Linked DNA regions of Homo sapiens: regions 2, 3, 4, 5, 6 and 7 are each linked to region 1. Evidence: promoter capture Hi-C in 16 types of primary human blood cells and fetal thymus (Javierre and others, 2016). All regions are on one chromosome and are shown on one strand. The core of a region is centred on a gene start or on the middle of the fragment in contact, and the rest is flanking DNA. Distances in the headings are between cores, read along the strand shown. Region 1 holds the start of TMEM213 (transmembrane protein 213). Region 2 holds the start of CREB3L2-AS1 (CREB3L2 antisense RNA 1). Region 3 overlaps LOC124901752 (a long non-coding RNA gene). Region 4 holds the start of LOC124901753 (a long non-coding RNA gene). Region 5 overlaps AKR1D1 (aldo-keto reductase family 1 member D1). Region 6 overlaps AKR1D1 (aldo-keto reductase family 1 member D1). Region 7 overlaps LOC107986749 (a long non-coding RNA gene).

Evidence for each region. Contacts are between HindIII fragments. The CHiCAGO score rates a contact against its expected background, and 5 or more counts as called.
Region 2: a contact is called between the fragment with the promoter of CREB3L2-AS1 here and the fragment with the promoter of TMEM213 in region 1, in 1 of 17 cell types (fetal thymus). The highest score is 6.3, in fetal thymus.
Region 3: a contact is called between a fragment that was not itself captured here and the fragment with the promoter of TMEM213 in region 1, in 1 of 17 cell types (erythroblasts). The highest score is 6.4, in erythroblasts.
Region 4: a fragment that was not itself captured here is called in contact with the fragment with the promoter of TMEM213 in region 1 in 1 of 17 cell types (erythroblasts); the score reaches 9.2 in erythroblasts.
Region 5: a contact is called between a fragment that was not itself captured here and the fragment with the promoter of TMEM213 in region 1, in 1 of 17 cell types (erythroblasts). The highest score is 5.8, in erythroblasts.
Region 6: a contact is called between a fragment that was not itself captured here and the fragment with the promoter of TMEM213 in region 1, in 1 of 17 cell types (erythroblasts). The highest score is 7.1, in erythroblasts.
Region 7: a contact is called between a fragment that was not itself captured here and the fragment with the promoter of TMEM213 in region 1, in 2 of 17 cell types (total CD4 T cells and total CD8 T cells). The highest score is 5.3, in total CD4 T cells.

Annotation. Positions count from the first base shown.
Region 1 is chr7:138,796,017-138,800,133 of GRCh38, forward strand. TMEM213 (transmembrane protein 213) reads left to right here and starts at 1,978. Exons shown (of 3, transcript NM_001085429.2): 1 at 1,978-2,170. The coding sequence starts at 2,089. It overlaps ATP6V0A4 (ATPase H+ transporting V0 subunit a4), which reads right to left and starts at 2,180. Exons shown (of 22, transcript NM_020632.3): 1 at 2,018-2,180. RefSeq lists a silencer at 1,948-2,242. The HindIII fragment of the contact is 4,060 bases long and covers 986-4,117 here.
Region 2 is chr7:137,951,053-137,955,169 of GRCh38, forward strand. CREB3L2-AS1 (CREB3L2 antisense RNA 1) reads left to right here and starts at 2,296. Exons shown (of 4, transcript NR_161346.1): 1 at 2,296-2,472. The region is part of intron 1 of CREB3L2 (cAMP responsive element binding protein 3 like 2); the gene reads right to left. The HindIII fragment of the contact is 9,042 bases long and covers 247-4,117 here.
Region 3 is chr7:138,017,413-138,021,529 of GRCh38, forward strand. LOC124901752 (a long non-coding RNA gene) reads left to right here. Exons shown (of 3, transcript XR_007060551.1): 3 at 3,775-4,117. Among named protein-coding and RNA genes, the nearest start is that of CREB3L2, 17 kb to the left of the region's middle. The HindIII fragment of the contact is 2,682 bases long and covers 1,068-3,749 here.
Region 4 is chr7:138,064,304-138,068,420 of GRCh38, forward strand. LOC124901753 (a long non-coding RNA gene) reads left to right here and starts at 706. Exons shown (of 2, transcript XR_007060553.1): 1 at 706-1,012. The HindIII fragment of the contact is 1,589 bases long and covers 900-2,488 here.
Region 5 is chr7:138,089,063-138,093,179 of GRCh38, forward strand. AKR1D1 (aldo-keto reductase family 1 member D1) reads left to right here. Exons shown (of 9, transcript NM_005989.4): 3 at 2,706-2,822. It also overlaps the pseudogene RN7SKP223. Among named protein-coding and RNA genes, the nearest start is that of AKR1D1, 15 kb to the left of the region's middle. The HindIII fragment of the contact is 6,515 bases long and covers 1-4,117 here.
Region 6 is chr7:138,107,462-138,111,578 of GRCh38, forward strand. AKR1D1 (aldo-keto reductase family 1 member D1) reads left to right here. Exons shown (of 9, transcript NM_005989.4): 7 at 1-119. Among named protein-coding and RNA genes, the nearest start is that of MIR4468, 14 kb to the right of the region's middle. The HindIII fragment of the contact is 4,177 bases long and covers 84-4,117 here.
Region 7 is chr7:138,164,527-138,168,643 of GRCh38, forward strand. It overlaps LOC107986749 (a long non-coding RNA gene), which reads left to right. Exons shown (of 3, transcript XR_001745033.3): 3 at 1-959. Among named protein-coding and RNA genes, the nearest start is that of MIR4468, 43 kb to the left of the region's middle. RefSeq lists an enhancer at 1-488. The HindIII fragment of the contact is 153 bases long and covers 1,802-1,954 here.

The DNA.
Region 1 (4,117 bases), core at 728-3,227:
GAAATCTTGGGGATTCCACGTACCGCTGTTATCCCTAGTACCCATTGGATAAATCAGTCCTGCCCTGTGAAGCCCACTGCAGGGTTTACTTGTGAGGAAAACATCGAGGACAGCATTTGTTCTACTAAGCAGCGTCCTCTCTGTGGGGACCTTGAGTTCCTTGAGCACAAGGGCTGTGTGGTCTTTCTCACCCCCAGGTCCCCACACCGAGAGCCTGGCCTGGCATGCAACTGTTTAATGTTCAACTAGTGGTAATGCCTAAACTGGACTTCTGTGCACTGACTGAAAATCACCCTTCCTAGGGCACGTTGGCCCTATCCCCAAATCCAGGAACATAGGCCACCACTATTTTATATCTTAGAGCCAATTAGAAAAAAGTGCCTCCCCTGGGCTGTTACACTCCACTAGGAAATCTTTCCTTGGGGCTTACTCACGCCTTCTATGTCTTTCCACAGAGCTGGAGTCCACCCCTCACCCTTACCAGGCCCATTCATGCGCAGGAACACTTCCACACATGGCAGGCTGTGTGCACACAGACGATTCCCTCGCCTTTATAGGTGCTATTCCTTTGACTTGAAAAGCCCATCAACTCTAATCTGCACATACAAACTTCAGCACCCAGCCCAAATGTCACTTTCTCTGTGAATCCTTCCCCTATACCTCTCAGGCAGAGTTCATCCCATCCTCCTTTTTATTCCCATCACAGTGGAAGGTACCCCTATTTGAGTCTTGCCAGGTTGCATCAAATTTCTTTCTTCCGGGTTTGGTTCCCTGCTGCACTGTGCTCTCAAGGGGAAGAGGCGTGTCTCAGTCATCTCAGTCTCCAGTGCCTAGGATGAGACCTTTTATATACATGTGGGTCTTCAATAAATGTTTTAGACGGAATGCAGAGCTCTAGTCAAGTTACTCCTCAGCTCAAAATCTCTACAGAACCTTCCCCTTTGCTTCCTGACTTTGTTTCAAATTCCTCTACCAGGCACGCAGAAGCTTAGCCCACAGCTCTCCTCTTGCCTCCCCACCTCACATGCCTTGGCTCACCTGCGCTTCTGGGTGCTGCTGGTACAGCCACCCTCTGACACTTCCTTACCTCTGGACCTTTGCTCATCTGTCCCTCTACCTATAATGCCATCTTCCCCTCTCCCCCTGTCAAAATTCTAGCCATCCTTCAAGGCCCAGGCCAAATGCCATTTTCTTTTTTTTTTTTTTTTTTTTTTTGGAGATGGAGTCTCCCTCTGTCGGCCAAGCTGGAATGCAGGGTCAGGAGCATCTCAGCTTACTGCAACCTCTGTCTTCCGGGTTCAAGCGATTTTCCTGCCTCAGCTTCCCAAGTGGCTGGGACTACAGGCATGCACCACCACACCTGGCTAATTTTTGTATTTTTATTAGAGATGGGGTTTCACCATTTTGGCCAGGCTGGTCTTGAACTCCTGACTTCAAGTGATCCACCTGCCTCAGCCTCCCAGAGTGCTGGGACTACAGGGTGAGCCCCCATGCCCAACCTCAAATGCCATTTTCTTCTTGAAGCATCCCATCAGCAGATGTGGCCTCCACTGTTGAAACCCACAGTGCTTTATCCTCCCAAGCCATTCCTCAAACACGGTTCTGGGGTTGAATGATGCGTGTTTGTAATTAACGCACTTCGACAGCAGGTATCTCCCAACTTCAGCATAGTGGGTGCTCAGTGAATATTGGCCCAAATGGAATTGAGCATCCATGCTACACCTGCAGATGGGAGAGGCAGCAAACTCATGTCCCAGGAACCAGCATGACACAGATCTCTCTTGTCCTCCCCTTGTTTCTCAATAAGGACAATATTTGCGCTCAGGGGAGAAGGGCACAGCTTGCCCCTCCCTTCCTTCCTCAGCCAACGGTTTGGCTTCCCTTCTAGAGAGGTGAGAGAAGGTGTGACAGGCCAAGTTTCCTTTGCTCCACCCCATGGTGTTTCCCCCAAACACCCAGCATAAGTTCACCTCTGGCAGAGTTGCTTTCCAGCTCCTGCAGGTGGGAGTCGACTCACCTGCAGCAGGCACTCGGCACAACTCCGCAGGACCGGCTCACCTGCACCGGGCACTCAGCACAGCCTCCAGCATGCAGCGCCTCCCCGCTGCCACCCGGGCCACCCTGATCCTCAGCCTGGCCTTTGCCTCCCTCCACTCGGCTTGCTCGGCAGGTAGCGTTATGAGCTTTATTCATGGCCAGGCTGGGAAGGGGGAGGGAAGGAGGGAAGAGAGGTGGGAGGGAAAGAAGGAGGAGGGGGAAGATTCTTTGGCCAGGGTTGGTCCTGCGCAAAGGAAGGAGGAAACAGAACTTTCTCATCTGAAGGATTAGGCAGGGGGTGGGAGGTGGGGCTGGGGCAGGGGGGGTCTTAGGTTGGCCTGAGACGGAGATCAGATACTCAATTCCTCAGCTAAGGCAGGAGCAGCCACCTCTCTTGGCCTTTGCCACAAAGAAAGGAAAAAGTTATTTGCTGGAGTCTCACCCATCAGGGGACCAAAATGATATCTCTTGGTCCGCTGTGTCCTGAAGGCTCCTTCTCAGCCCCACTGGGCTGTCGTGCTTTGCAATCCTCCCTGTGCACATTTGTGTCTGACCTTCCCTTTCCTAAGTCCTCCATCCCTCCCTGCCCCTTGTACTTTCTCTGCGACTTTCACAAAACCTGACTGCCAGGAGGGCTGCCATTCACTGTCTCCCACCCTCCTGCCTCCCCGGGCACTGGAAATGCTGGGTTATCTCCCCATTTTCCTGTGGAGGCTGGAAGGCTGATCTACATCCCCTGCCTTGCCCTGCCAGGCCGGGTTCTGCAACTCACGGCAGAGGGACCTTGGTTACCATCTTCTGCTCCTGGCTTTGATCTTGTTCTCAGCCACCTCAGAACACCACCACACTCTCTATGCCCTGCAACACTCCTGCTCCCAAAACCAACCCTGCCCCCAAAGTCCTGTGTCTGCCCCTCTCATCCTCAGACTCTCTTCTGTAGCCACTGCCAGGGGTGTTGGTGTTGAGGTTCAAGACGTGCACTCTTGAGCCGCTGAGCCTGAACCCAGGTCCAGCTTCCATGACTCACTAGCTATGCGACCTCGAGCAAATGACTTTACCTCTCTATGCCAAGTTTCCTCCTTTATCTCATGGGGACAATCATAGTGCTTGTCAAGACGAATTGATGTAATTTCATGTAAAGAACTTAGAAATAGCCCATAGAACACACACAGTGAATGTCAGCAATTATGGTAAGCACATTCATTTTATTTTCCAACTTCACCCCTCCCCAAATAAGAGTGCTGAGTTTCTTTCTACTTACCCCGACAGTGCCTTGCTTATGATGGGAGCTCAGAATCAGAAGACAAGTTTAACTGCACTGAATCGTTGGGTCTTCCCAGCAGCTTTTCTTGTGGAATAGCCCCAAGTAGGGCCAGTCCCTCCCTCGCTTCTGGCTCTGCTTATAAGGGAGGAGGGCGATGTTTAAATTCTTAGGAATTTTCACCGGGGCTATTCCATTTGAACCACAGAAAATTGCTGATATTGAACAATTTTCACCTATAACAATGGCAATTTCATAAGCTCGAACCTAACCCTAGCATTCAGCCAACTAGGGTTTTTTTCCACTCACTTTGGAAGAGGACAACTTCCATTCTAGGTGTAGAGGTGAAATGAAAGTCAGGGCCAAGGAAGTTATTTGAGTCATAAGGAAAATTAGAATAGTGAGGAATCAGTTTCTCCAAAACAAATAAAGACCAGGCTCTAAGCCATTTAGCTGTAAATAATTTACAGTAACAGATTGCATCGAGGCAATTACTATACTTTAAGCAGGACATTGGAGTGGCTTGGGGGTTGGGTGGCATAAAATTAGTCTCAGCAGCAACTTCATGGCTTTAGCTAAACAGCAGGTTTCTTCTGAACTCGTCCTGCTGTGACAACAAGCTCCCTTGAAGGACACACTGACCCACAGCCAGGGGAACCTTGAGAGTTTCCATGCCCACCACTTTTTTTTTTTTCCTTTTTGCATTCCCCAAGAAGCAGAACGAACAGCAATATAATTTCTAGGAAGGTTCTTCCAATCCATCTCTTGGTTTCCATCTACCTAGGTCAGCATGAGCACTGTCTAATAATAGAACTTGCA
Region 2 (4,117 bases), core at 1,046-3,545, 840 kb before region 1:
TGACATGCACGTGCCCAGCTAAGGCTGAAAAAGGGCACACTCTGCCTTCTTGCTGTAGCTCTCAGGCTATTACGCAGGTTCCTTTTCATGGTCTATTTAGTGCCATGTTTTTCATATCTTTGTGCTTTTTGTTGGTGACGTTGCTGTCTAAAACACCTCCCAAGCACAGTGCTGAAGTGCTATCTAGTGTCCTAAGTACAAGACGGCTGTGATATGCCTCACAGAAAAAAATCCACGTGTTCGATAAGCTTTGTTCAGGTATGGGTGATAGCACTCTTGGCTGTAGCTCAATGTTAATAAACCAACAATATATTGATACATTAAGTATGGTGTCTTTAAACAGAAGCACACATAAAACAAGGTTATATACTGATTAGTGATAAAAATGTAATCAGACACCCGCAAGAACCTAATCCTCTATTTCCCTTAGCAGCAAAGGGTTAGTATTTGCTAGTTCAGTGTTCACAGTGACTTAAGAGACCATAACCACTGCAAATAACAAGAATTGATTGTACTTATTGAAATGTATAAGTATGGTATATAAGCTCAAGGAATTATTGGCGAAATGTCTGTCATGCATTCAAAGGGCAATGTATTAACTATCTAAAATCATATACATGAAAAAGACTGTAAGAAACACACAAAACAGGCCAGACATGGTGGCTCATGCCTGTAACCCCTGCACTCTGGGAGGTGAGGCAGAAGGACTGCTTGAACCCAGGAGTTCGAGACGAGACCAGTCTGGGCAACATAGGGAGACTCTGTCTCTACCAAAAAAAATGTTTTAATTAGCTGGGCGTGGTGGTGCACAGCTGCAGTCCCAGCTACTTAGGAGGCTGAGGTGGGAGGATCGCTTAAGCCCAGGAGGTGGAGGCTCTAGTGAGTCAGGATCACGCCACTGCACTATAACCTGGGTGACAGAGTGAGACCTAGTCTTCAAGAAATATACAAAATAGACAATAGGGCTGGTAGGATAGTGGGAACATAAGAGTTTTTCTTTTCTTATTTCTCTAACTTTGGTAATATGTTATTTTCGTAATTTAAAAATAAAATTTCAAATGCAAATTTACTCCCATCCATTAATATCTCTGAGAAAAATCCACAAGTCCTTATTGTCAAGTATATGACTAATACCCTGTTCAGCAGCCCTACAAAAAGGTAATTAAAACCATCTAGAGGCCTGGTGAGGTTTGATTTACTTTTCTGGGAAACTTGGAAAAGATCTTCCTAGTATGGACCTGATTTATCATCTGACTTTGAAGGTTCTCCTTGTGTTTGATTTCTATTAACCATCTCTTCCACATACTCAGCCTCCTTCCCAACTTCCCCATGGCTGAGAGGATATCCCCGCCCAGCCCTCAGGCTCTCAGCCTTTCAACTCAAATGTCACCTTAGAGAAACAGTGTCCATGACCCCTACGGTAGCCACAGGTCCCATTTTGTCATCTTCACTGCATTTGCCAGTCTGTGAAATTAGCTTACTGATTTATCTGTTCCAGTTTTTATGATCTGGCCCCTGCTTTCCCGCCTTTGCACTAGAATATACAGGGACTGTCTGTCTTGCTCAGTGTTTGACAGCCACCCTACCTACCCCACCCCAACTCTACCACACCTAGAAGGAAGTGCTCAGTAAGTATTTGCTGACTTACTAACTCTTAAGTTTTTCCTGATTCCTCTTTCTCCTTTGACCCCAAATCCAGATATAATCACTTATTTACCTATCTATCCTACTCCAGGAGGAGTTTAAGAATAATTGTTTTTGTTTTTGTTTTTTTTAGACGGGGTCTCTCTCTCTCACTCTTGTCAACTAGGCTGGAGTGCAGTGGCGTGATCTTGGCTCACTACAACCTCCGCCTCCCGGGTTCCAGCGATTCTCCTGCCTCAGCCTCTAACGTAGCTGGATTACAGGCGCCTGCCACCACGCCTGGATAATTTTTGTATTTTTCGTAGAGACAGGGTTTCACCATGTTGGCCAGGCTGGTCTCGAACTCCTGACCTCAAGTGATCTGCCTGCCTCGGCCTCCCAAAGTATTGGGATGAAAGGCATGAGCCGCTGTGCCCAGCCAGTTTAAGAATATTTCAATCACTTAGTAAGACCTTTTAATGTAAACTCCTTGATGTCTCTTGACTTCATCCTGATTTATTTCCTGGGAAACAAGAGAGCTCAGGGTTAGACAGTTTGTTCCCTCTAAGTCACTGTAGTTTATGTTAAGTGGGATTAGCTCCCGGTGGTGTTTCACTGAAAACCTGCTTACCGCTTAGTTGATTAACTGCTACTCCACATAACACATTCCTTCCTTATGACCAAATTACTGCCAGAGCCTTCTAACTTCTCTGCACCCACTCCAGTCTAGCTGAGGCCTGAGGAATAGATGGATAAATAACAGTATCTGAGACCTGCTGTTGGTGTATGTTAAATGTTCTTTAAAAAGCGTCAACCATCCCCAACACACGACTCTCCTGAAAGGGAAAGGTATGCGGGTTTGCAGAGGAGGGGAGAGTTGGGTGGGTGATGACGGTCTCAGAATGTGACTCTAGAGAAATCATTTCATCTCTGTTGGAAAGTCCTTGTTTCACTTGCATTGTGTTTTAAGGCTGGGAAGGGGTAGACACTGAGCTCTTTCTAATGCCAAGCCTTCATCAGAAAGCAGCTGTAATATAGAAAAAATGCTTTGCCTAATCCTGTTTTCATGATGGTTTCTAGGCAACCGCTTGATGCAAACTAGTTTGTAAACAGCTGGCAGCTAGATAACCAAGAGAAAAAGGGGCACTTAAAACAGACGGTCAAACAAAGATCTGCAGAAGGGAAAGGCATCATCATGGGTTTTTCACACAGCCCAGTAAGATCACAAGGTCCTGTAACCTCTCCAGGAGGGAAAAGCAGCAGGGGTGTGTGAGCTGTAAACCTGGAAGAATAAACAGCACTCTCCTGATGAATCACAGGGAAAGAGAAATTCTTCATGTCATTCTTCACGGAGGAGACAAGATCAAAATCTTGAGAGGCTACCTCTCTGCATGGGTTTCTGTCTGGTATTCTGAAGTTCCACAAACATAAGTAGAGTCCTGCCCTTTGACCTTGAGATACAGGTTGTACCTGTCCTGTCTACGCATGAGGGATAACTAAAATGACAACTGAAATTGTGAAATGACCCACAGCATTTAATGATCACCGAGAACAAAAGTGTAGGATCTTAGTGCTTGTTTACATTTGGCTTGAATTGTGTATTATTTTTCCTGAAAAAGAAAGACTAGTAATCCTAGGGACATAATCCACAGCTTACAAATACTCTTGCTCTTGCAGGTGGTGACAGCAGATAGCTACCCAGAAGTAGGGGTGGACCCAGGCAGGGGGCAGGGGGCTAGGGATCCTCTCAGAGGTTCCTGTTTGCTCCCTGTTCTAACTATAATGGCCACGGCTTTCTATTTTCAGAAAACTTTTAGCAAAAAGGAAAGAACCACAAAGAAATCATCAGGAGCACTGCAGGCAGCACACATTTAAGCTCTATAAAGGCAGCTTATGCTTGCGTCCAAACTACCCTAGGAGCACTCCTATTTTTTAAAATGAATAACTTTGTGTTGCCAAACTCCCCAGGTCCACCACATGTAAAGTTTATCTGTAACAGCAGCCTAAAGAGTTTGGAATGCTCATGGTATTGTCTGGCCATGAGAGAGGAGGTAAGAGGAGAAGAGGAAGGCATGGAGGCTAGAAAGTAGGAAGACCAGCTGCCCCAGTTGCCTCAGACTTTTCTGGTTGTAAAGTTCCACATCCTGGGATATCTCTCAGTCCCACAGAAGTCGGAACAACTGCCCAACCTACAAAGGAATAGAAAGAAGACTACAAACGTTGCCTAAGCACAAGTGTAATTAGTCACTCAAGACTCCCAGTGACTGAGAACCCAGACCCAAGAAACCAGGTCCTGTAACTGCCAGAGTCTGGGTTCTTATTTAACATAAAACTCTAAAGTTCCCTGGACAGAGCCACTGGTAGAGACACCATTCTCCCACCACGTTAACCTACATTTAAAAGTAAATAATGAATGACCATGATAAACCAATCACTCTCTTGACCCCTAATTCTCACCAGGCTGACCTTTTTATAAGTGGTTACAGATACGCTA
Region 3 (4,117 bases), core at 1,159-3,658, 780 kb before region 1:
ATCTGAAATCTTTTTTTTTTTTTTTTTTTTTTTTTTGAGACACGGCCTTGCTCTTTCACCCAGGCTGGGGTGCAGTGGTGTGATCTCTGTTCACTGCAACATCTGTTTCCCAAGCTCAAGTGATTCTTCTGCCTCAGCCTCCCGAGTAGCTGAGACCACAGGCACATACCACCATACCCCGCTTTTTTTTGTATTTTTGGAAGAGACAAGGTCTTGCCATGTTGCCCAGTCTGGTCTCGAACTCCTGAGCTCAAGCAATCTGTCTGCCTTGGCCTCCCAAAGTGCTGGGATGACAGGCGTGAGCTACCGCGCCTAGCCCATTTTGAATGCTTATTGAATATTTGGATCATTTCCACTCAAGAAAGTTTTATTATATGGGAAATATGTTCCAAAATTGTGAACTATAAAATGCTAATATTGCATCTATAAAATGCTAATATTGCATCTATAAAATGCTAATATCTGATAGGCAGTTCAGGATTTATTGCTTCCCAGGTTTACATAAAATGTGCCAAAGAAGATGTGTTCTTATTGAGAAAAAGAATACTTTCATCTAATTCGAAAGTTATCTAAAAGTTAATTCAAATTCTGGATTTGACAAGGTTATTGCATCCATGTAACTTTCTGTATTACCTTTAAAGTACTTCTGCTGTTAAGTTATAGGGCTTTGACTCCTTAGCCCTAAAAAGGACACAACATAATGTCATGTCTAGCCTTAATTCTCTTGAATGGTTAAAATCCTTTGCAAGCTCAACAGTGACTGCTCTAGACTCCTGGAAAAAGCAATAGCAATCACCTTGTGCTAACTCAGTAGCTAAGGCTTTGCTCTTTCACATTGACAGCCTAGGTTCAACTCCTGCCTTTGGAAGTAAGTCCTTTCTGGTTGATAGTTACGGGACTTACCATTTGTTGATTCTTTTCCACCTCCATGGACAGCTTCTGGTTTCCTGTCTTGAATTTTCTTTTCTCTGAGCTACCCTACAGAGAATTCTAGATCTTGTGAAAACTGTTTGCCATCTCTTTGGAGATACCTCATACATCCATGCTTAAGCTGTAACCTTAATTAAAGCTTATTGGTTTCACTTGGGAGAATATCTTTGGAAAACAAAAAACAAAAAACAAAAGCCTAAAGGCCAGAGGTGTCAGCTGTTTTTCCCACCTAGAATCTGGTAATAAGGGATTTTAAAAGATTTTTGTTTTTTGTTTTTTTTTAGAAAAAAAAGCTCTATCATTAAAAGTCAGCCTAACTAAATGCTGATATGTATTATATACATATTATATAAGTATATATAATATACAATCATATAATATAACATATATAATTTTTATATATTTTTATATAATAATTTATATATGATAGATATATACATATATTCAGTCAACTGAACTCTGTCTGTCTTCATGCTACCCTCAATGCTCACATGAGAGGGCCTAAGGTAATTTCTGATAGGCTGGGACTCCTTGGGAGAAACAGAGGAGGCACTGCGGACACCGTTTCAGGAGAAGCCTCTGTTTTCCTCATGGAACTCCAAGAATTGTGAGTAGAAAGATCCCTATCAAAATCTAAGGCTCTGTTCCGTTTTGCATTGTGTTACCTGAGCTTTTTGACTTTTAGGGGCATCAGAAATTACTCTGCATTACAGTAGAACTTTCAGCCTTGGTGTGTAATAGCTAGGTAACAAATATATTTTTAGGGATGGCTAATGGCACTTGCTTACAGTGAGTGGGCGTTACTACAGGCTGGTATTTCTTTCTTCTCGCATTTAAACAAGAAGAAAAACATGCTCTATTGGCACCTAGAAGGCATGGAATGGGGGATGTGCCGATTATAAAATGGCCTGATTGGCTTTGGTTTGCCCGTCAGCCTCGGGAGAATGTCCTTGGAGTGAAATGCACCAGTGAAACCATTGTACTGTCTTTTCCTGTATCATTTCCTTCAATTTTGGGGGACTCAGGATTCGGTGTGAAAATGGAATCCTTGGTTTTTGGAAATCTGTTCTGCTTTCCAGTGATGCCTGTTTTTCACACGATTAAATGTTAGGCCCTAGAAACTCCACGCTTTCTCGGCCCTGTTCCTCAAAGGGCTCCACCCTGAAGCCAGTAATCCAATGAAGAAACTTAAAATCTGGCAAATGAAAAGTCTTCAAACTACCAGATCATCTTCTGTCTGTCTGTGTATTTATATGTATTGTGTATGTGAAGTTTATATAAAAGAGCTCTAATTATTTGACTTAAAGAAAAACAAGTGCTTAAATCAAATATTTTGTCAGTAGAATAGGCAATTTAATGCCTTTTAGTTCACATGACTTTAGTAATCTTTGGTAAATAAATATAGTTTTCAAGATTATTGGTAAAATAAAAGATGTCTTCAAAATTTATACATTTGGTCTAAATTAGGCAGGTCAGATACTGTCTGCTAGATGCTTTAATGTCATAAACTGCTTCTATGACAATTTTTTTTTCTTTTGTGACAGAGTTTCACTCTTGTTGCCCAGGATAGAGTGCAATGGTGTGATCTTGGCTCACCACAGCCTCCACCTCCCGGCTTCAAGTGAATCTCCTGCCTCAGCCTCCCAAGTAGCTGGGATTACAGGCATGCACCACCACGCTCGGCTAATTTTGTAGTTTTAGTGGAGACAGGGTTTCTCCATCTTGGTCACGCTGGTCTCGAACTCTGACCTCAGGTGATCTGCTTGCCTCAGTCTCCCAAAGTGCTGGGATTACAGGCGTGAGCCACCACGCCCGGCCGACATTTTTGATAATCATTTGACTTGTCCGCTTTACAGCTAACAGATTTTAGATAGGATTTAGGCTGGGAAGAGTCAGACACTGTCTGCAGCTCTGTCTTACTCCTGAGCTCTACAATCCCGTACGCAGTTACTTACTTACTTACTTACCAGGTCTTTTGCCAAAAATAAAAGTTGCAAAGAGTTAACACTGTGACATGTACTTGAAACTACTAGAGAAACAGTTTAACACACAAGGTCTATAAGGAAAGTAGAGCGTACTTTTGGTAAGAGGTTATAAGAAGGCATGGAAGTATGGCCTTTGTTAAAGGGAATATTTAGGGGTTTTTTCGGTTTTATTTTTCTTGAGACAGGATCTCGCTTTGTTACCCAGGCTGGAGTGCAGTGGCATGATCATGGCTCACTGCAGTCTCGACCTCCCTGGCTCAAGCCATCCTCCAACTTCAGCTCCATGTGCAACTAGGACTACAGACGTGTGCCACCACATCTGGCTAATTTTTTAAAATTTTTTTGTAGAGATGAGGTCTCCCTATGTTGCCCAGGCTTGTCTCGAACTCCTAGCCTCAAGCAATCCTCCCACCTTGGCCTCCCAAATTGCTGGGATTACAGTTGTGAGCCACTGTACCCGGCCAATGTAATTTTGTCTAATTCAGAAGGTTTTAAGGATTGTCCTAACCTAAAAGAATAACGGGAGAAAACTGAAGGTTTAAACAAGCTGTAAATTGTGAAAGATTGATCTTGTAAAGGAAGTTCTGTGAGTATGAGCAAGTTGGCTAAAATTTGAAGGATATTTTTCAATTCGTCTGTAAATTCAGTATTAAAATAAAGCCACACCTAATTCAGAGCCAGAATCTGGGCCCATGTGTCTGGATAACAGGGTATTCTTGGAGCATTGATTTTTTCTTTAACAAAATATTGTAAAGGCTTATAAAAGGTTTATGGGAATTTTACCTTATGGTCAACTAATTAAAATTGGATAGATTTCTTTATAAGGTTTAATGAAGCTTTTTTTTTTTTTTTTTGACAGGGTCTCCCTCTGTCACCCAGGCTGCAGTGCAATGGTACAATCTTGGATCACTGCAATCTCCACCTCCTGAGCTCAAGCAATCCTCCCACCTCAGCCTCCCGAGTACCTGGAACTAAAGGCACAAAACACCATGCCCACCTAATTTTCGTATTTTTTGGTGGAGATGGGACTTCACCATGTTTGCCCAGGCTGGTCTCAAACTCCTGAGCTCAAGAAATCCACCCACCTCAATCTCCCAAACTGCTGGGATTACAGACATGAGCCACCACACTGGGCCTCCTTTTTTTTGGCTTTGAGACAGGGTCTCCCTATGTTGCCTAGGCTAAGTGAAATGGTGAAATCA
Region 4 (4,117 bases), core at 444-2,943, 730 kb before region 1:
ATGGTAAATTCAATATAATAAGCATTATTTTGTTTAATATATTTATAAAATTATATATTAAGACTAAAGTTAAAATCTTTATGTTTATCATCTGTTTGTGTATTTATCTCTCTATGTCTAAATTCTTGCACATAGAGCAGTATTAGTAAATTATTTACTACAATTTGTTACGTGAATAGTGAACCAAAAGGAGAAAATTATAATTTGTGTTTTTCTGTAAAATGACTCAGTCATTTTTTCTCACAGATGTACCTTTTTTAGCACTATAATATTCTATTAGCCCTCATTCCTTTGGACATGCTTTTAAATTATTTTAACAAAACAAAACAAAAAAACCCTCACAGCTTAAAAGAATTAAAAGTTTCTACTAATTATTGTTTCTTGTTATGGTGTGTTTTCAAATATTGCCTGGAGAGAACAAACATTTGGGTAACTATTACCTGCCTCTAGAGACTGTCTCATGTTTTTATACCTCCTCTTCTCTGAAAACTCTTCATTTTGCATTCCCCAAATTTAAGCCCCAAATTCAGAAAAATAAGAGGATATGGACAATGCAGTTAATTTACAGCTGGACTTTCCACCTGTAAACTCTTTGTCTCTAGGTCTCCTGGATGACATTTTGACACTCAGACAAGATAAGGGCAGTTTTATGATATGCTGGTTAAAGGGTAAAGCTCCCCCTGGTGATCCCGCACCCCCAAGGTCAGTTTCTTTACTGATGATGTGCAACAGGTCAAACCAGCTGAGTTAGCTAGGCTTGATTATGTGGCTCAAGAGAGAAAAATTCCTGCTGGGAAGCTTGGTTTTGAGTTGTAGCCTAAGCTAATGTATTCCTCACACAGATCTTGGCGGTTCAATCTGGAAACTTGGTGTGCTGCGTGTGAATACAGATGCTGGGAAGCTTAGCCTGGGATGCCATCTCTCTGACCCCTAATGCTTGGCTGAACTCTTCTGCTGCACTCGGTCTTTCCTCTGTAAATCACAGCATTGCATCACTATACGCTGGAGTCTGGTGAGTACTCACAGATGTCTCAGCTTGGAAAATCTTTTCAGTGAAGATGTCTTTTTATGACTAAGCTATCATTAAATTTCTCGAAGGGTTCCCTAGGTACCACAAAGATTTATTTTAAAAATAAGTAAAAATAATCAGATTTGTCATTCTCCAAATTTTCACCAATTTGAAACTATTGTGCAAAATTTAAGATGAAAGACGGGTAGCTTGATAAATCACAGCAAAAGTTCACCTTTCCAGATTAATTATGTATAAGTAAAATACATTAATACAAATATGTACCCATCAGTTTTGTACTTTTCAGGTTAAAAGAAATATACCTATGTTTAAATAGGTATATAATAGTTATATAATAATAGTTATTAATCATAGTTATATAATAATAACAACTGCCAAAATAACTATTAAAAGACTTTTTTCCCAGTATTTTAGATGTAAATATTCTTGTCAATTGTAAACAATTACAATGCACTTTATGGGATAAATTAAATGCCTTGGAGATAGACTATGGCATCATTGTTTGTCTCTCCTTCATATATAACTATCCACAGCTTTAGTACCTTGGACCCAACAACTCTCCTTCCCTACTCAAGCAAGAAAAATGCCTTGATTATTTAACCTGTATTAGGAAATTGTCAGTGCCCTATACAGACCTTTGTATATTCCCTTTGTATGGCAGGGGTTAACCTCTATTGACCTTCTTATTTGGAGATAAGGACAAATGCTTATCTCCAGAACTGCCTAGAGAATGACATCGACTCTTGTCAATACTAGGGAATGTATTAACTAAATATGTATTAATTAAAGGTAAATGATATTACATAACCATGGATCTGTGAGTTGTTTTCAGGGTAGCATGTACCAGCCTGTCAGCAATATTTAGTATTAATAATTGCATTTATAATTTCCACTGGTTTCGGTGGAGCTTGAGGGACTAAGTCTGGTCACATATTGGAATATGTCTATGCAACTAGCTCACTGTAAGACACACCCTCCTTGAGCAGGCTCTGGGCTTTCTGGTACCAAGGTGCTCACACAGGTCACTGGTGTTTTAATACCTGAAGACAAAGCATAATCAGAACAACCATGTGGTGTGAAAGTAAGGAAGTCTTCACCTGAGATCTCTAGACACTCCCAATGCATTTTCTTCTCCTGCTATTGCTTTATTTGTTGCCTGTAATAAAGTATAAACTGGGTCCTATGGATCCCTTCAGGAATCAAACACTTGATAAAAATAATTAATGTACCTTTTGATAACCCTAATTGAATGATGTTCATTGGTAGTTCATACTTAAACATAAAAGCTGGAGATTGTCAGGCAAGCTATGCTATTACTGATTCGAATTCACTCTTGGCATATAAGCCTTTCTCAAAAGTCAGTTGACTTCAGATAACTGAGTTAACTAACCTCAAGTGGATCTGCCAGTTAGCATAAAATGAAAGAGCAATTATTGGTCCAATCAATATTTCCCAGCAAGCTTTGGTCATTCTTTACTTATTTTTAGGATGGATTGAGACTTTTTCTTGCCAGACCATCATTAAAGACTTTGAATGCTTTTCCTTTTACTCAAAAACTGTATTGTTCTTATACCCAATCTTCAGGAAAATGTAGAGAAAATAAAGGATTACTAAAACTAAAAATTGTCAAAGTTCTAAGAGTCACTGGAACTTACATGTAAGTTCCTACAGTATTCCATTTACCTTCATGACATAGGCTCTCCCCTTAAGAGTTAATAACAGACCATGCCATGCATTTCAGAATTTTGCTCTGATCCTAGTCTTTGCCCCACTGCAAGTTGACATAACTAAATACTACATCTTATCATTAAACGGATACAAGCTGCCTTTTCAAAGTAACCATTTACACAATCTTTGAGCCTGAAACCTGGAGATTTTGTCTTCTGGAAGAGAAAGCAAAGGAAGATTTGCCTTGAGCTTTGACTAACAGGACTGTATCAGGTACTGTTACTAATTAACACTGTGGTGAGACTCTAAGATAGTAATCCCTGCATTCATATTTTCAGTTCAAAAGACATACATCCTTTTTCCTAGATCAGGGGACTTCCATTTCACTGGTAGACCTCAAGCTGAGAATTCTTTGAACTCTACCAGAAGCAGACAATCCTCTAAAGTAACAATTGATTCAAAACCCTCCATTGAAGCTAATGATTATGTAAACTAGATAGCTTTTACTAAAATCTCTGGAACAAGATTAATTTTAAGATAATTTAATACACTTTTCCTTTTGATTTTTTTTACTATGGATCTTGCCTAATAGCATATGTTGAAGCTCTCCAGTGACTGGGTCAAGAGTTCTCAGTCTGTTCTCCTATACATTTTTTTTTAAACTTCTAAGCCTCTGTGGTCTTTTCTTGTGGCATTTCAAGAGAAAGAAAACATTCTTATACATTTTTCTCAGACCTTAGTTACTGCTGTAAATCTGATTGGTGGATCAATATCCATTTGACCCCGCTGGGGGAAACATATGTCATAGATGTTTCTTTAAATATTGTCAAGATAGATGTTCTTATACAAATTTCTTCTAGTACTGAAATGTCTCTCACATTATGAGTCCCAACCTTCAACCTTGTAAAAATTGGACTTTACCTCCACATTACAAAATACATCTTATTAGATCATTAACTAAACCCAGGAACTCCGCTCCGCTCTCTGCAATGGTCAGTTGCTCTCTTCAGAGTCACTGTATCCTGCAGGAATTATTTAACTTCACTCAGAAAATATGTCCAGCATTAGGGTCCAATGATTAGTTCTCTGTTTTGAAGATACATAATGTTTATACTGTCCTTTGAGTCCATGCCCTACCAAAATACTATTCCTTATGTGTACACTACCACTGGAAACGCATCAAACAGTTTAAATTCATTACGCAGGGTCTGAATGGATAACAACATATTTCATCTTGATTTCCTCTTCACTAACCAAGAGGGAGTTTATGCCAGAACAAACATACATATCTACATATGTATTTGCATACCTTGGTGCAAATACATATGTACAAGAATAGACTCTGCTGGATTTTTTAGCGCATTTTTGAGATCTGGGTTTGGTTATCTAGTCCAGTGGATGAACAGTCTTCTACAAAAG
Region 5 (4,117 bases), core at 606-3,105, 710 kb before region 1:
TATTTGGCTGGGTGCGGTGTCTCACGCCTCTAATCCGCACTTCGGGAGGCCGAGGCAGGTGTTTTGCTTGAGCTCAGGAGTTCAAGACCAACCTGGGTAACATGGCAAAACCTTGTCTCTACAAAAAAAAATACAAAAATTAGCCAGGCATGGTAACTTGCACCTGTAGTCCCAGATACTTGGGAGGCTGAGGCAGGAGGATGGCTTGAGCCAGGGAGGTCAAAGCTGCAATGAGTCATGTTCATATCACTGCACTCCAACCTGAGTGACACAGCGAGACCCTCTCTCAAAAAAAAAAAAGCATTTGAGCAAATGTAATTAACTCAGACATGGTATTCAGATTTTGTTTAATAAAAGCAAACAAACGTAAATTAAAAAAAAAAAAAAACAAGCTCATAAGGTCACCAATCCAAAAGCCAGCTATGTAGGCTTCCTGGGCAGGCACATTATGCAAGCCTTTTGCTTAATGACTCATATTATAGGAGTCATTTCTTACTATGATAGAGGCTAAAGTTAGCATACAAGGAAAAGGTGGTCAAAACATGCTTTAAATTGTCCTTTAACTTTAATCCTTTAAATTGTCCAAAAAGTACAGTTGTGAATAGAAAGCAATATTTATACGTATACAATGTCAATATGGGCTGTATGTAATAAAGCATACTTGGGCGAAATATTGGTGTTTACTTACGTAAACAGAAACAGTGTGTGCAGCTGAGTTCATGTAATGTGCCATTGCTATTGCCTCATCAGGACTGTCTTCACTGCAGCTCAGCAGCACCTGAGAGGCAATGTGGGGGTGATTAAGAGCCTAGACTGGTGCAAGGTTGCCCAGGTCAGAGGCCCAGATCTGTCACTATTGGCTGAGTTGCCTAGCATTTCTGGACCTCAATTTTTTTTCTCTGTAAAATGGGGATAATAATGTCAACTATTTCATAAAGTTGTTATGAGTTCACATTTACAAAGCACTCACACCGAACCTGGCACAAAGCTAATACTATGTATGTTTGTTGAATAAAAGTAAATTAAAATATCATCAGCCTATGCCCAGGAATGAAAAAGAAAGTAAAATAAATATCAAACAGAATTTCCACTTAGATGGGATTGCAATAGGAACACCAAAGAGACCCAGAGTAGCAATCAAAACACACGTAACACATTTTTCCACTACTCTCTTCATGTTAAATTTTCTCTGTGTTTTTAAGGCAAGAAAAAAATCATTGTCCAACAGAGGAAAAAATCAGATATTACCAATTTTGCTTACCCTTTCTTGTGACCAAAAAAAGTATGATTCAGGCCGGGTGCAGTGGCTCAAGCCTGTAATCCCAGCACTTTGGAAGGCAGAGGAGGAAGGATCACTTGAGGTCAGAAGTTCGAGACCAGACTGGCCAACATGGTGAAACCCCATCTCTACTAAAAATACAAAAATTAGCCAGGCGTGGTAGCAGGTGCCTGTAATCCCAGCTACTTGGGAGGCTGAGGCAGCAGAATCGCTTGAACCCGGGAGGCAGAGGTTGCACTAAGCCAAGATCAAGCCACTGCGCTCCAGCCTCAGCAACACAGCAAGACCCCGTCTCAAAAAAAAAAAAAAAAGAAAAAAGAAAAGTATGATTCTAAACTTATATCCCCCCAAAAAAATCTGTGAGCAAAACTGATATTCCAAAAGATGTACTAATTTGTCCTGTGGGTATAAGCAACCTTGGCACCGTATGTCTCAGACACTTAAGGGTACACATGCTCCAGTAGGATCAACCAAACCTTGATCCTTCATTATGTAATGCCTTAGCGAAAGAGTAATTTAATTGCTCTGGGGTCTAAGTAGGACCAAATAAGAACAAAAGATCAGTGAAAGCAAATCTAAATCTATGCACTAATTTAAAATTTCACCAGGCTTTCACACCACCTGTCACAATGTGAAGGACCCAGTGAAGCCACACGCATAACCATATTCCTTGCTCATTTTATCAGAGTGGCATGACAATAAAGTATCACGCTAGGTCAGGACATCTAGAACATTGTGTAACCCTAGTTATACAATGAGGAAAAATGCAAGCACTAAGCATCAGGAAATTCACCCGGAAATGGGGAAGACTGCCATCAAATTAGGTACTCTGTGGTCAAGGAGGATCTGTAAGTCTCTTGTGGTAGATTTGCATAAAATTATGTCTGGAGATGTGAGGGTGATCTGGCTGTAACATATGTCACCCCATTAGTCACCAGGGCTAATTCAGCTGATCTGGCTGTCTAGGCAATTGTACCTCTTGAAGCTGCACTCTCAGTGGAAGAGGACGGCTTTCCCTGATGAAGGAGGAGGGTTTTTAGGTCAAGTGTATGTGAGTAGCTGCACTCCCCTACTAGAACCTCCAAACAAGCTCTCAAGCTAGGCTCTGAGTGTCAAGAGTTTTATCAGCTCATCCTATACTCAGATGACACTGCATCATAAACATATTTTTGTGAAATGAAATGTGTGAATAAAATGTGTACAAGCGGCTAGGCACGGTGGCTGATGCTTATAATCCCAGCACTTTGGGAGGCTGAAGTGGGCAGATCGCTTGAGCCCAGGAGTTAAAGACCAGCCTGGGCAACATAGTGAGACCCCCCATCTCAAAAAAAAAAAATGTGTACGAGTGTTTTACAAAGAAAAAGGGGCTGCCTTATCGTAAAAAGCGTGTAGACATTAGTTAATTCTCCCTCTTTGATTCTTTCAGCTATGGGCTACAAATCATGTCCCAGAGATGGTCCGCCCAACCCTGGAGAGGACACTCAGGGTCCTCCAGCTAGATTATGTGGATCTTTACATCATTGAAGTACCCATGGCCTTTAAGGTGAGTTCAGATGCCCAAAGGTCAGGTCTCTGCACCCTGGCAACCATGAGCCAATAGCTATGTGCATGAAGCTCTGCACCATGAGCCAATAGCTATGTGCATGAAGCTCTGCACCATGAGCCAATAGCTATGTGCATGAAGCTCTGCACCATGAGCCAATAGCTATGTGCATGAAGCTAGCGTATTACTTGGCACCACAGAATATTGTGGTGTTTTGTTACCACAGATCAGAGAGTACTGACCTAGTCTGACAAATACCCGAGAAGATTATGTTAGCAGACTCAGGCTTGGTTTCCAAGTTTCTTGATTTTTTAATTCAATGCAATTTCTATTATACCATGTTTTTACAACTATAGTTTAAGCTCTCTGCATCAAACCAACATGTAGTCCTCTAACTGTAGCCCACCATTGAGACACACACCCTTCTTCCCACTCACACAGTCACAATCTCCGCCCTCATCCTCACTTTGTTAATGCTGACTCTTGTTCAAATGTCAGATTTCTAACCTAAGTCTTAAAAATTTAGAAAGACCCAGTGTACAATTATGTGTTGCTTAGCAATGGGATACATTCTGAGAAATGTGTCATGAGGTGACTTTGTTGTTCTGCAAACATCATATAGAGTGTACTTACACAAACCGAGGTGGTAAGGTTTTATTTACCATGGTAGACTGCATTACTTTTGTAATAACATGAATAAAACGCAAACACGTTGTGCCTAAATGGTATAGCCTATTACAGACTTAGGCTAGATAGCCCAGCCGATTGCTCCTAGGCTATAAACCTGCACAGCATGTTACTATTCTGAATACTGTAGACGATGGTAACACAATGGTAAATATTTGTGTATATAAACATAACATAGAAAAGGTACAGTAAAAATATGGCATAAAAGATAAGATACACCTATACCTGGCACTTACCATGAATGGAGCTTGCAGGATAAAAATTGGATGAGTCACGGAGTAAGTGGTGAGTGAATGTGAAGGCCTAGGTCATTACTGTACATGACTGGAGACTTTATAAACACTGCACACTTAGGGTACACAATGAATCACATAATATTTTTTCTTCAATAATAAATTAACATTAGCTTATTGTAACTGTTTTCAGCTTATAAATGTTTTAATTTTTTAACTTTTTGATTCTTTGTAATAATACTTAGTAGTAACACTAATACTAATTACTTTTTTTTTTTTTTTTGAGACAGAGTCTCGCTCTGTTGCCAGGCTGAAGTGCAGTGGTGCCATCTCGGCTCACTGCAACTTCCGCCTCCCGGGTTCAAGCGATTCTCC
Region 6 (4,117 bases), core at 922-3,421, 690 kb before region 1:
CATTGGGGAAAAGGTACAATAAGACAGCAGCTCAAATTGTTTTGCGTTTCAACATCCAGCGAGGGGTGGTTGTCATTCCTAAAAGCTTTAATCTTGAAAGGATCAAAGAAAATTTTCAGGTAAGAGAATTGCTTTTGGAGATGTGAAAAGATGGGTATGTTTGCTATTTTTGCTTTTATAGAATGTGTTCAGCTTAATAGGAAACCTGTAACACTCTCATATTTTATTTTATACCAGCCCCTTGACCCATGTAGCCCATATCTAGGTTTAATTTTCATTCAATTTGAGACAATTGCTAGTACTTCAGAGATTGCTTTGCTACTTGTACACTATCCAGATCTCTTATATTTTCTCTTTCCTTATCTACTTTTTATTTTTTGTTTTAAATTTTTTTTTTGTTTGTTTAGAGATAGGGTCTTGCTATATTGCCCAGGCTAGTCTGGAACTCCTGTCTTCAAGCGATCCTTCCACCTTGACCTCCCAAAGTTCTGGGATTACAGGCGTGAGCCACTGTACCCAGCCTCTTCCCTTATCTATTGACCCTTGACACTACCTACTCACTTCTCTACCAGCACAACAGAAATTGAGTGAATAAAATTTGGAATTCATAATAGTCAACTTTCCACCTTCTTAATGGCTCTGGTAAAAGTTGAGGACAAATTTGAAAATTATTGAAGAGGACCATTTAGACTTCATGAATGCTAATTGCCTTTACTTCCCTCTATAAGTAATCTATGACTTACGTTGTAACTTCCAAGTGAAGAAAGAACTAGACAAAGGGGTAATTCATTTATTCCGCTACTACTAAAGACTAAACTGCTAGGTAAACACAACCATAGAAAAGTGCCATACAAAATTAATTAATTACCCATTAGCTAATTTACATTTCAAAAGTAAATTGCCTGTTTAGCCCTACTCATAATTAAAGATAAATAAAAAGTAAGATACTAGTTGTCCCTTCATATCAGAAAATAATCAAAATACTTGGTAATATTTGGGGAAACAGGCGCTTTGACACACTATTGTTAGAAACATTAATTTGTATGAGATATGGAAGAGTAGGTTAAATTATTTCATGTCCATCAAAATTCAAATGTACATGTTACATGATTTATTTATATGTGGAACCTAAAAAAGTTAATCACATAAAAGTAAGGAGTAGAATAGTGGTTACCGGAGGCTGAGATTATTGAAGGGAGGGTGCTATGAGGAGATGTTGGTCAAAAAAGTTGTGATTACAGTTAGAAGGAACAAATGTCAAGAGATCTATTGTACAAAAAGGTGTCTATAGTTGATGATGATATAGTGTATTCTTGAAAAACATAAAGAGAGTGCATCTTATGTGCTCTTACCACAAAAATGATAACTATATGAGGTAATGCATTTGTTAATTAGCTAGATTTAACCACTCCACAATTTATATGTATGTCAAAACATCATGTTGTATATGATAAAAACATACAATGTTATCTGTCAAATTAAATAAATTCAAATACACTTATCCATTGACTCAGCAGTCTTACCCTATAGATGTATTTGCACATATATACATGGGTGCACACACACAGACAGATGTTTATTATAGAATTCTTTGTAATTTTTTAAAAACTCAAAACAATCTTCAACAGGATTTTATAAAACAAGCTATGACATATTTGTACACTGAAATATCATATAGCCATTTAAAAAATACAAGTACTGACATAGGAAGATAGCCACAATATTAGACAATTACATCTTCAGAGCTTTTTTGCTACATGATAGAATGCAACTCAAACTTTAGCAAAAAATAAAAGATAATTTATTGGCTTGCATAACTGGAAAGTCCATGAGTAGATCAGAAATGGCTAGACACAGGTACTCAAATGATTTATAAAGAGATTTAGTCCTCTCTCTCTCTCCCTCCTTTCTCTCCACCCACATGGTGGCACAGACAATTCCTAACAGCTCCAGGATAATCAATTACTCATACTCAGTGAAGAGTGAAGATGATCAGAAACAAAGTCTTCTATCAGGGTCTCTATCAATCCCTGATTAGCTCCTGAAGGTCACCCTCATATTACCCACTGTGGCCACTGAGTAGGATACCCTGACCCCAGGGCTATATCCCTATTCCTGTGCTGAAGAAGTTAACAGACAGCTCCACTAGAAGGGGGAAGGAAAGTTCGTAAAAAGAAAAAAGGCGAAAAGATGCTGAATAGTTACATCAACTCCTGACAATAACATTTGCCAAAATGCCTCATCCTAAAAAGTGGTTGACACTCTTTTCCACAATCTTAGAAAGAGATCAACTGCATTACTAATGTGTAGGCTCATTGAAGATTAAAACACATTTTGATGGACTTTTTGAGGACTGAAAATTTTGCTGTTCAAAAATTATAGGAGTGTTACAAGTGACCTTTGCGATGGAAAGCATTTGGACTTTATAGCATCTAGCAAATCGCAATTTTGTACCAGAGAAAATGCCACTCTCCTTGAAATTTTCATTGTAACTAATTATGTTATATTCCATATGTTTCCATAGCCTTGATAATAAAAGAATGGAACTCAGAGGTCACATATTCCAAGAAAAAAACGGATACAGATTTAGAAGGAAAATGAGAATGAAAATCACAGCCAATTCTCACTCTTTAGGGAATAGACTCACCCAATAACCATGAATTTTGCTGGGTATGAAAGCAAGGAGCAACAAAATAATAAATTATGCTCTCTTAGAATGAAGGTAAAATAAACTGTTAGAAATATTTTAAAAGAATGGCAAAGATCAATAAAGCATAAAGAATAAAGGGAAAAATAAATATTTTGATGAAAAAAGAAAAGCAAAAGAAAATAAAAACTATGTAGTAAAAAGTTAAGACTGGGCACAGTGGTTCACACCTGTAATCCCAGCACTTTGGGAGGCCGAGGCAGGAAGATTGCTTGAGACCAGGAGTTTGAGAGCAGCCTGGGCAACAAAGCGAGATCCCATTGCTTTAAAATTAAAAAAAGTTAAGTTAAATCATCAGTTTAGGCTGGGTGCGGTGGCTCACTCCTCTAATCCCAGCACCTTGGGAGGCTGAGGCAGGTGGATCACCTGAGGTCTGGAGTTTGAGACCATCTTGGCCAACATGGCAAAACCCCATCTCTACTAAAAATACAAAAATTAGCCGGGCATGGTCATGGGCGCCTGTAATCCCAGCTGCTCAGGAGGCTGAGGCAGGAGAATCGCTTGAACTAGGGATGCGGAGTTTGCAGTGAGCTGAGATCATACCATAGCACTCCAGCCTGGATGACAAGAGTGAAACTTTGTCTCAAAACAAATAAACAAAAAACCATGAGTTTAAAAACTAGATAAAATTAAAGGTAAACATGAAGAAAGCTAATACGGAGCCAGGATATTTTAAAAGTTAAAATTTTAAAAAAAAGAAATTATACCAGGTGTGGTCCAGCTTTGTTGCCATCATCCACTGGCCTCCATTCTTTGAAGATGTTATCTCTGGGCTCACTTTCACTTTCTCCAACACTCTTCCTCTCATAATTCTTAGTGAATTCAACATCCACACCAGTCGTTCTCCACCCTTATCCGACAGCTCTTTGACTTCCTCTCCCATAAGAATCTTGTCCTATATATTTCAGCCACTAATTCCCATGCCTAGCCCTTGGAAATTGCAATAACAACTTCCTAATAAATCCTCCATAGCCTCAATTTCAAACATCCCCCTCTCTTTCCTACACTAGCAATTGTTCCTCTCTACTGTGTAACTCCCACCAACATTCACATATGTAGTAACCTCCTATCTTAAAAAATAAAATCCAACCTAGACTCACTTTCCTCTCCAAGTATTATCCACTTCTCTCTTCTGTTTCAAACATCTGGAAAGAGAAGTTGTTCTCGCTGCTTCCCATTCCCTTCCCCCACTATCTCTTGAAGCCATTCAAACCAAACTTTTACCCTGACCATCCCACTGGAACAGCCCTTGTCAAAGTTACCAGTGACCTCCACATTGCTAGATCCAGTAATTCTCAGTCCTTGTCCCACTTGGTCTTTCAACCACATCTGATACAGTTAACAATATCTCCTTCTTCAAACATTTACTGAAAGGGAAAACTGTAGGGGAAGCAGTTTGAGAAGAACTAT
Region 7 (4,117 bases), core at 628-3,127, 630 kb before region 1:
TAACATTATGTTACAGTCTCACCAACGCACCGCAATGTAGCAGTCTCTCGTTTGAGGTATCACCCTGAGTTCTCGGTCTCACAACCATGACAATTAAGGAACATGATCACCAAGGGTGAGGTTGGAGTGGAAGTTTAATAAGCAAAAGAAGAAAGTTCTCCACCACAGAAAGGGGCCCAAAAGAGGGTTGCCATTTTTACAGTTGAATGCAAAGGCTTTTATAAGAAACCAGTTAGAGCTGGGCATCTCATTTGCATGAGATGCGAATTTCTGGTAGCTCCACCCCATCCTCCTAATGCACATGTAGGCCCTTAGCTTGAGTTACTCCGTATTGCTTTGTTGCCCTTACTGCACATGTGTCAGGGGATGGAATTTTCCATTACGGGCATGTCTGGGCAAGTCACCTGTGTAGGCTTTCTTATCTGTGTGGCTGTGGGCATGTCTTAGGCAAGTGCCGCTGTGCAAGTTCCCTTATCTGTGCCTGCAGCTTGATTTTTCTGGCTGTTCTTTTGTTTGAAAAGATTCAACCAAGGACCCACCATAACTGCCTGCCTGACTGGTTTCTTCCTCCTTCCTCTCTCAATGATATCATTCTCCCTTTGTTCAATCATATTTCTTCATCAAACCTAGCATAAAGAATATACAAATTTATGCATTTGGGGGAGGTCTTCCTTTCCTTATGAAGGCTTCCATACCACGTATAAATAATATGTGTATGATTTTCTCTTGTGAATCTGTATTTTGTTATAGGGGCCTCAGCCATGAACCTAGAGATTAGTGAGCAAAAATTATTTTTTTCTCAAGTGTTTCTTGCTTGAGATGATTTTCTTATCCCCAAGATTAAAATATTATGTGTTTCTTCCATGATTTTTATGGTGTTTATATCTATTTCTTTAATCTTTCTAGAATGTACTTTTGTACATGCTGAAAGGTAGAATTAATTTTGCAAAAAGGAAAAAGCTACTTGCTACTTTTACTATAATTATAATTATATAATTATTATTAAGGTTTTTTCTTTCTTCTTTCTTTTTTTTTTTTTTTTTTTTTTTTTTTTTTTTTTGAGATAGGGTCTCACTCTGTCACCCAGGCTAGAGTGTAGTGGTGCAATCTGGGCTCACTGCAACCTCTGCCTCCCAGGTTCAAGTGATCCTCCAAACTCAGCTTCCCAAGTAGCTGGGACTACAGGCATGTGCCACCACAATTATTATTTCATTAGACCCTCTCTGGATCTTGTTCCATCTCTAATATCTCTGCCAAATGCTCCGAATCAGGTAGATATATTTAAATTCTAGCTGGTGCAAAGAAGGAATAATTTGAAAAAGAAGAAATAATTTTAATGCACATGCAAGTAATATACGTATTCATCTAGTTACTTGCATGCATTTGTGGCCAAAAGCCATGAATCATATAAAGAAGTAGCTGCAGCCAGGCACGGTAGCTCATGCCTGTAATCCTAGCACTTTGGGAGGCCAAGGGCGGGGGAGGGGGTGGATTACCTGAGGTCAGGAGTTCGAGACCAGCCTGGCCAACATGGTGAAACCCTGTCTTTACTAAAAATACAAACATTAGCTGGTCATGGTGGTGGGTGCCTATAATCCCAGCTACTTGGGAGGCTGAGGAGAATTGCTTGAACCCAGCAGATGGAGGTTGCAGTGAGCTGAGATTGTGCCACTTTACTCCAGCCTGGGTGAAACAGCAAAACTCCATCTCAAAAAAAAAAGTAGCTTCAATGCTGTTTTCAAGATACTTAAGCCAATTTGGTCATACACCCTTATTAGTTGCTTTATGATTAGCTCTCCAAAGCTTCCAGTAATTAGAATTTGGTGACAACCATAGAGACTTCAATTCCAAATGGTATGTTATAATGAAAGCAAATTTCAGACCTCATTCAGCCATGGGTATAAATATGTATTAGCAATCAGGCCCTCCAAATAGTCATACTACCCGTTTTATAAGCTTGATGAAGTCTTAGCTCTCTGACCTTTCAGTGTTCCCACAGAACCTTATGAGCGTCAGAGACAGGAGGACCATGTTCCAGCTTTGGAGCAGGATTAACTAACTCTCAAATGAGAGTCAGGTGAAAAATTCTCTCACTACAGTCTAGAATTTCAAGCCTGGAGAGATAATTCAAACAGTCTAGAATTTCAAGCCTGGAGACATAATTCAAAATGAATAGACAGGCTAGCTGGACTTTTACACCTCATTTATGCAAAGGCAAGAGTATCCATAAGACATTTTTATCCAATCCACATAAAATTGAATTCATTTTACCAGTAAAAAATCATTTCTAACATCCCTTATGCTAATTAACAAACCCCCTGGGATTGATATGAGATAAAGACGACTGGAGCCATAATCTAATCCTTCTGGAATGTGGCTTCTGAATGGAGAATTTCTTTTTTTGTGTGTGAGATGAAGCCTCACTTTGTTGCTGAGGCTGGAGTGCAGTGGCACGATCCCGGCTCACTGCAACCTCTGCCTCCCAGTTTCAAGCGATTCTCCTGCTTTAGCCCCCACCAAGTAGCTGAAATTACAGACATGAACCCAATGCCTAGCTAATTCTTTTTTTGAATTTTTAGTAGAGACGGGGTTTTGCCATGTTGGCCAGGCTGGTCTCGAACTCCCGACTTCAAGTGATCCACACCCACCTTGGCCTCACAAAGTCCCGGGATTACCTGCGTGAGCCACCAAGCCAAGCCTGAACTGACAATTTCAAATATTAACCTACCATCCAGGAGTATATTTTTCCTGAGAGAGTTCAGAAATATCACCCCAAAATATGCAGCATTGGTATGCTGATTACTTCAAACTGAAGTCATTTGGGAAATGCCAAACGCACAGAGGGGCTTTTCCTGAATTTCCCTTATCTGACTAAGTGCAGATTCTCCAGAAGGAAGCCAATTGTCAAGAAATGCTTCCTGGGGATTTTTATCTATCCGTGAAGATTAACACACAACAGAAGTCAAACCTAGAAAAAGCTGGAGGTTAGCACCTCCTACAGACAGGATATAACCTATTCTTCTGAAGGCTGATTCGTACTTTTCATAATCATTTACTCTCCCTAGGTTGCCTACATACTCCCCTTCCCTCTCTCTTATGAAGGGAATATAAAAGCTTTTAGGTCTCATTGAGTTATTGGGTAGTTTCTTAACTTCCATGTGATGCCTTTCTGCATGTTAATAAAATGTATATATATATTTTTTTCTCCTTTTAATCTGTCTATTGCCAGCTTATTTCCCCAGACTTTCAGCCTCAAATCTTCAGAATGGAGGAGAGGACTTCCTTCACCCATATATCCAAATTATGTAACTCCCTGATGGGTTCTCCTTGCCTGCTGCACACACAAAATCAACTCTCTGAGACCATGCCATTGCAGTAAAGAAAAGAGTTTGATTGACACAAGGCTGGCCACACCACACAGGAGACTGTTATCACTCAACTCAATCTCCCCAAAGGCTCAAAGATTAGGGTTTTTCCCAGGATCTTTTGATGAGCAGGGGCCTAAGGTAGGGGCATACTGATTGGTTGGGTCAGAGATGAAATCATAGGGAATCAAAGCTGCCCTCTTATGGTGGGTAAGTTCCTGGGTTGGGGCCACAGGACTGGTTGGCAGGTCCAGGTGGGGCCATCCATTGTCAGAAATGCAAAAACCTGAAAAGACATCTCAAAAGGCCAGTCTTAGTTTCTACAATAGTGATGTTGTCTGCAAGAGTAATTGGGGAAGTTGCAAATCTTACGACCTCCATAATAATGGCTGGTAATTATTTAGAATTTAAGCCCCTCTCATCCTCCTAACTTCATGGCCTTTCATTAGTTTTACAAGAATCGTTTAGTTTTGGGGGAAGGTTATTATCATTTAAACTATAAACTAAGTTTCTCCCAAAGTTATCTTGGCCCACACCCACGAATGAGCAAAGCCAGCCAGCCTGTGAGGCTAGAAGCAAGATGCAGTCAGCCACGTCCAATTTCTCTGTCATACTTTTGCAAAGCCAGTTTCAGTCAGGGCTCTTCAAATGCCCAACTAACTATTCCTAAGTAAAGAATGAAAGCAACTAGAACACATCACACCACACTATCCATGCTGAAGCATTTTAAAGTAAACGTAAAGATAATCTAA